2 separate regions of the Homo sapiens genome follow, and region 1 is linked to region 2. Evidence: promoter capture Hi-C in 16 types of primary human blood cells and fetal thymus (Javierre and others, 2016). All regions are on one chromosome and are shown on one strand. The core of a region is centred on a gene start or on the middle of the fragment in contact, and the rest is flanking DNA. Distances in the headings are between cores, read along the strand shown. Region 1 holds the start of NAXD (NAD(P)HX dehydratase). Region 2 overlaps TUBGCP3 (tubulin gamma complex component 3).

Region 1 (2,846 bases), core at 138-2,637, 2.0 Mb before region 2:
CCTCGGCCTCCCAAAGTGCTGGGCTTACAGGCATGAGCCACCACGCCCGGCCTCTTCATAATAAATCTTGCTGCTGCTCACTCTTTGGGTCTATGCCACCTTTAAGAGCTGTAACACTGTGAAGGTCCGCAGCTTCATTCTTGAAGTCAGTGAGACCATGAACCCACCGGCAGGAACTAACTCCACACATAGTTATAGTTATCTCTTGATTATAGGCTAAATAAGGAGGGGATTATTCATGAGTTTTCTGGGAAAGAGGTTGGCAATTGCTGGAACTGAGGGTTCCTCCCCTTTTTAGACCATATAGAGTAATTTCCTGATGTTGCCATAGCATTTGTAAACTCTCATGGCGCTGGTAGGAGTGTCCTTTAGCATGCTAATACGTTATAATCAGCAAATAATGAGCAATGAGGACACAGAGGTCACTTTTGTGGCCATCTTGGTTTTGGTAGGCTTTGGGCCAGTTTCTTTACTGTGTCATCTTATCAGTGCGGTCTTTGTGACCTGTATCTTGTGCCCACCACCTCATCCTGTGGCCAAGAATGTCTAACCCCCTGGGAATGCAGCCCAGTAGGTCTCACCCTCATTTTACCCAGTCCCTATTCAAGATGGAATCGCTCTGGTTAAAAGGCCTCTGACATGTTGAGCCATCCTTTCACCTCAGCCTCTCAAGTAGCTGGACTACAGGTGTGCCACACCATCCCCTGCTAATTTTCCAAAAAAATTTTGGTAGAGAAGGGGGTCTCCTTATGTTGTCCAGGCTGGTCTCAAACTCCTGGGCTCAAACGATCCTTCCATCTTGGCCTCCCAAAGCATTGGGATCACACGCGCGAGCCACCGCACCTGGCCCCACAAGTTTCTTTTAGCACCATGACGGTGGCTTCAAATAGGGCGGCAGTGGAGGTAAGAGGCCATCAGCCACAGGAGGAGCGTGGGTGGGAGGGCAGGAGAGGTCAGAATGCCTTCCAGGGGTTTGGGCCTCAGCGTTGGAGTGATGGAGCTGCCCTGACCTGAGACGGTGGAAAGCGAAGGGGCCTCGCAGCGAGCTGGTTTGGGGTTCAGGGCAGAGGTTGCGCCTGGAGCAGAAAGGCACCTGACTGCTATACTGGGGGCACATAGTGGGCCTCGGCACTCCACCTGCCAGCAAAATCATTTTCTATAACGCCGCAAGCCTAAAAATGGGCCGATAAACACAAACCAGACCCTGAACCAGATCGTTGTTAACTCTTCAACCTGCCTTCCAGCCGAACCTCTTAGGCCAGAGCTGGGACCAGGCCGGGTTGGGCGTCGCGCTTGTCAATCATCTAGAACCGGGTGTGATTGAGCGAGTTGGGATCCCACTGCCGACAGCCGCGCGGAGGCGGTCGGGAAACCGGAAAACGCTTCCAATGGCTGTGTTTCCGGCGACGGCGCGGGGGCAGCTGGGAATCCGGAATGCTGCCCGATGGCCCTGGGTCCTCGCTGTGGGGCAATCCGGGCTTGCAGACGAGGTAAGGTCGATTCCATTTGGCCCGGGGATGGTCACACGCGCGGGGGCCGGAACTGCCGTCGCCGGCGCGGTCGTTGTCGCATTGCTCTCGGCCGCACTCGCGCTGTACGGGCCGCCACTGGACGCAGGTACCCGACCGCTGACCGCCTCTGCTGGCTCGCGGGGGGGAAGCGCCGCCGAGGGGCAGCCCGCGCGCGGGGCCGGGGCGCCGTGTGGCCTGCGGGGCGGAGTAGGGAGAGGACGGAGGCCTCCTGGAACGGCGCGGCGACGGCTGGGCGCGGCTTGGGTGATGGGAGCCTCCGTGCGGGGTGACAGAGGGGCAGAGGGTGGCGCCGGGCCGGAGCCAGTGCGCGTCCCAGGAGCGGCGGAGCCCGCGCGGTGGCCGGGGAACGGGGGGCCGAGGGCCGAGGACGGTAGGAGGGCCCTGGGGCGCCGTGGTGCGCTGGTCGGATCCGTCTGCTCTGCTCTGTCCCCGCTCCCGGTCTGGGAAAGATGCTCGCCAACTGCGGGCTTGCTGTTTGGTCGGAGCTGGATACGGGGGCCCTCCTGGGGCCCAGGGACGCGGCGGGCGTGCAGGCGAGCTGGCCGGCTGAGCGGGCTTCGCGCACACCAGGAGCAGGGCCGTGTCTGCATCCCCAATTTGAAGTCCCAGTGCGACTGGGCAAGTACAGACCCTGCACGTCCTTGGACGAGAGGGACTGGATATTGCGACGCCTGGGCCGCAGAAAAGGACTCCACCAGCCAGGCCTCCTTCGCCCGCCCCCGGTTCGGGGTGTGTGTGTGCGTGTAGGAGGTCCCTTGGGGAGGGAGGCTCACCTGAGTCATCCCCAGAACCTGAAGTGCTGGCCAGATGTCCCCGAGGGCCCTGCCCTGGCCTTGGCTGGTCCTTGCACGCTGAGATGCCTTTTCAAATAGAACGGATAAGGTAGAAAGAATTTAAACAGGAGCTGAGCAAGTGCTTGGAGCCCCATCTCTTCATAGGGTTTTTTTGTCTTTCTGTTTGCCTTGTTGGTATTGGTGTATCTAACATATTTTATACAGGAAGTAGTTCGTGTATATCTCATTTCTCATAAGGAGAGATTGCTGTTATCCACCTTGGTATAGAAGATAAATAGAAGCTCAGAGAAAGTGACTTAGCCAGGATTCTCCAGCCAGTGAGTGGCCGAAATGGTTAAACGCACCATTTGTTGCTGTAGTCATTAGATAGATTTTACCTTGTGTGTATGTTGGGCATCGTCAGAGAGTTTGGCTTTTTGTTTTCATCAGCACACACTGAGAATGCACTGGGTGGCGCTGAGAGGGTACTCTACACTGCACCTCACTCACACCAGCAGGGAGGCTTCTTAACACTTTATTT
Region 2 (2,869 bases), core at 21-2,520:
GGGTCAGGAGGGCGTTGGGAGTAAGCCACAGTGCTTAGTAGAGGAACAGAGCACATACACTAGCCACCCTTGACTCCAGATGCAAGTCAGAGTAACTTATCACGCATTTTAATGTTTCGGATGCCAAGCTCCAACAGACACCTACAGGATCAGAAGCCCTAGAGATGAAGCCCACAATATTAATTCTGAGTAAGTCCCACATTTAGAGAGTTTAAAATGAAAAGGCATGAAGTTAGATACCATAAAAAGTCCTGTTCTCAACCACTGGCCACCAGCTCCCCTTCCCACAGGCAATCAACGTTATCAGGTTCTTGTGAAATCACAGGCGATTCCAATGCATGGCTCTAGTTGAAAAGCAATGCTCTAAAACAACAAAAACATTACTCTAGATGCGTGGTTCTCAAACTCTTTGGTCTCAGGGCTTCTTTACACTATTACGATTGAGAACTCCAAAAAGCTTTTGTTTATGTAGGTTATATCTATCCACAGTTACCATATTAGAAATTTAAGCCAAAACAATTTTTAAATTTTAACTTATTGAAAAATAGTAAATCCATCAAGTACAACTTGAAACAAAGCCTGAAACTCTGAAGTTTTAATACACATCTAATGTATATCTTAATATACATGTAATACACATTGATCTTCCCAAGAATGTAATTATATAACCAAAGGAAGATCACATGGTATTTGGAACTTCATCAAAAGCTCTTTACCATTTTGGAAAATCATGAAACCAATAGCAACACCACTTGTGGTACTGAATCACCAAAACAATAATCCTTTATCTTCTGATAGTGGCTTGTAGGACACTCATAGAGGTCTTGCATATTATGGCAATCATCTTCGAATATGCTGTGTACTGTAGTCATACCTGAACATTTATGATGAAATACTTATCTAATATAAATTCCTCTTTATGTATTCTTTACCTCATAGTTAGAAAAAGGATTACAAAGTAGCTATGAAAAGAAGTGTTACCTCTGACAGATTTGAACATTAACATCAAGCACACTGTTTCCAATGATAAGAATAATTACGCAAAGACATAATAAATAAATGTGCTCCCAGGAGGGGCAGGGATATGGAGACAGGATTTGACTATGACTGGCTGGCAGTATGTGTTTCAAGCAAATTCACAGATGTTATAAGTTGGAAAAGGTGGTAAATCATGGTCATGCTAACTTTGTAAAACTGTCAAGCACCATTATATGTAGGTGCTTTGCTTCTGAAGGTCCCTTGAAGTCAACTGTATAATTTTTTAAAAGATACCTTATAAAAATGTGATTCATATGAAATTCTCATTAAAAGTAACAAGTACCTATTATGCCTTGATTTCATAGTACTAAAAAAAATGTATTACAAAAGCATAAGGCCAATTGTAATATGTCATCAAAGAATAAGGTAATTAATCAAATATTCTATGGAGTTACCAGATAAAATGCTCACTAATCAAATTTTTAACACCAAATATTGTAAAGGTAGTAATTAATATTGCTCCTTTGCTCACTAAGGTATAACAAATGAAAGAACAAGGTAAGCTACTATTTATAAATTCTTCAGTAAATAGCAGCATAATTTAAAATTATATCATAAATGCTTGACAATCCTAGCTATCTAGAACATAGCAAAAAGAGCATCACCTTTAATGGACTTCATGACATAATTTATTCAGAGAGGGCCGGGCGCAGTGGCTCGTGCCTGTAATCCCAGCACTTTGGGAGGCCAAGCGGCAGGGGGGTGGGGTGCAGATCACTTGAGGTCAGGAGTTGGAGACCAGCCTGGCCACATGGTGAAACCCCATCTCTACTAAAAACACAAAAATTAGCCAGGAGTGCTGGCATACACCTGTAATCCCAACTACTTGGGGGGCTGATGCAGGAGAATCACTTGAAGGAGGCAGAGGTTGCAGTGAGCCCAGATCATGCCACTGCACTCCAGCCTAGGTGACAGAGCAAGACTCCATCTCAAATAAATAAATAAATAAATTATTTATTCAGAGAGGACCCTGTCAGGATCTGAGAGCCCACTTTTAGACACAGTTCTAAATGGGAAGATAGTAGGATACAGAATTTTGCTGAAAAGAAGCTTTTCAGTCTCTTAGAAGGGACAAAACTTTTATATCAAAGAATCTTCAATGTAAAAAAAAAAAAGTTTTTGGCTGGGCGCGGTGGCTCACACCTCTAATCCCAGCACTTCGGGAGGCCGAGGCGGGTGCATCACGAGGTCAGGAGATCGAAACCATCCTGGCTAACACAGTGAAACCCCGTCTCTACTAAAAATACAAAAAATGAGCCAGGCGTGGTGGCGGGCGCCTGTAGTCCCAGCTACTCGGGAGGCTGAGGCAGGAGAATGGCATGAACCCGGAAGGTAGAGCTTGGCAGTGAGCCGAGATCACACCACTGCACTCCAGCCTGGGCGACCAGAGTGAGACTCTGTCTCAAAAAAAAAAAAAAGTTCTTAGGTTGAGAAATATCATTCTAGCTCATGATGAATGAATTTCAAAATCCAATTATAACAATGGGAATGTATGAATGTGTGGTTTATCCCTAGAAAAAAAAACTCTGGAACCACTGGTATAAGGAAAACACTGACATTAAGGTGGGTAAGTCCTAACAATCTTAGTTTTATCTGATTCCCCCTATGACGAGGAACATGAAACATGTGAAAGGAAACTCAGTCTGCTAATGACAAAAACAAACGATGGCAGGCCATGCTCATACCTCAAGACCTTTCCACTGGTTCTCTCTACTCAGAACCTTCCCCAGATGTTCAAATGGCCCTCCCTTACTCCATTCAGGTCTCTTTAAATATCTCAGAGGCTTTCCCTCACCTGCCTCTTCCCTCTCTATTCCTTTACCCTACTTTT

Evidence for each region. Contacts are between HindIII fragments. The CHiCAGO score rates a contact against its expected background, and 5 or more counts as called.
Region 1: the fragment with the promoter of NAXD here is called in contact with a fragment that was not itself captured in region 2 in 1 of 17 cell types (naive CD8 T cells); the score reaches 5.7 in naive CD8 T cells.

Annotation. Positions count from the first base shown.
Region 1 is chr13:110,614,158-110,617,003 of GRCh38, forward strand. It overlaps NAXD (NAD(P)HX dehydratase), which reads left to right and starts at 1,388. Exons shown (of 10, transcript NM_001242882.2): 1 at 1,388-1,490. The coding sequence starts at 1,445. NAXD-AS1 (NAXD antisense RNA 1) reads right to left here and starts at 2,196. Exons shown (of 1, transcript NR_182301.1): 1 at 1-2,196. RefSeq lists enhancers at 469-1,396, 2,298-2,347, 2,368-2,417 and silencers at 1,598-1,847, 1,858-2,017. The HindIII fragment of the contact is 4,814 bases long and covers 1-2,846 here.
Region 2 is chr13:112,583,799-112,586,667 of GRCh38, forward strand. All of the region lies in intron 1 of TUBGCP3 (tubulin gamma complex component 3), which reads right to left. Among named protein-coding and RNA genes, the nearest start is that of TUBGCP3, 2.9 kb to the right of the region's middle. The HindIII fragment of the contact is 1,631 bases long and covers 456-2,086 here.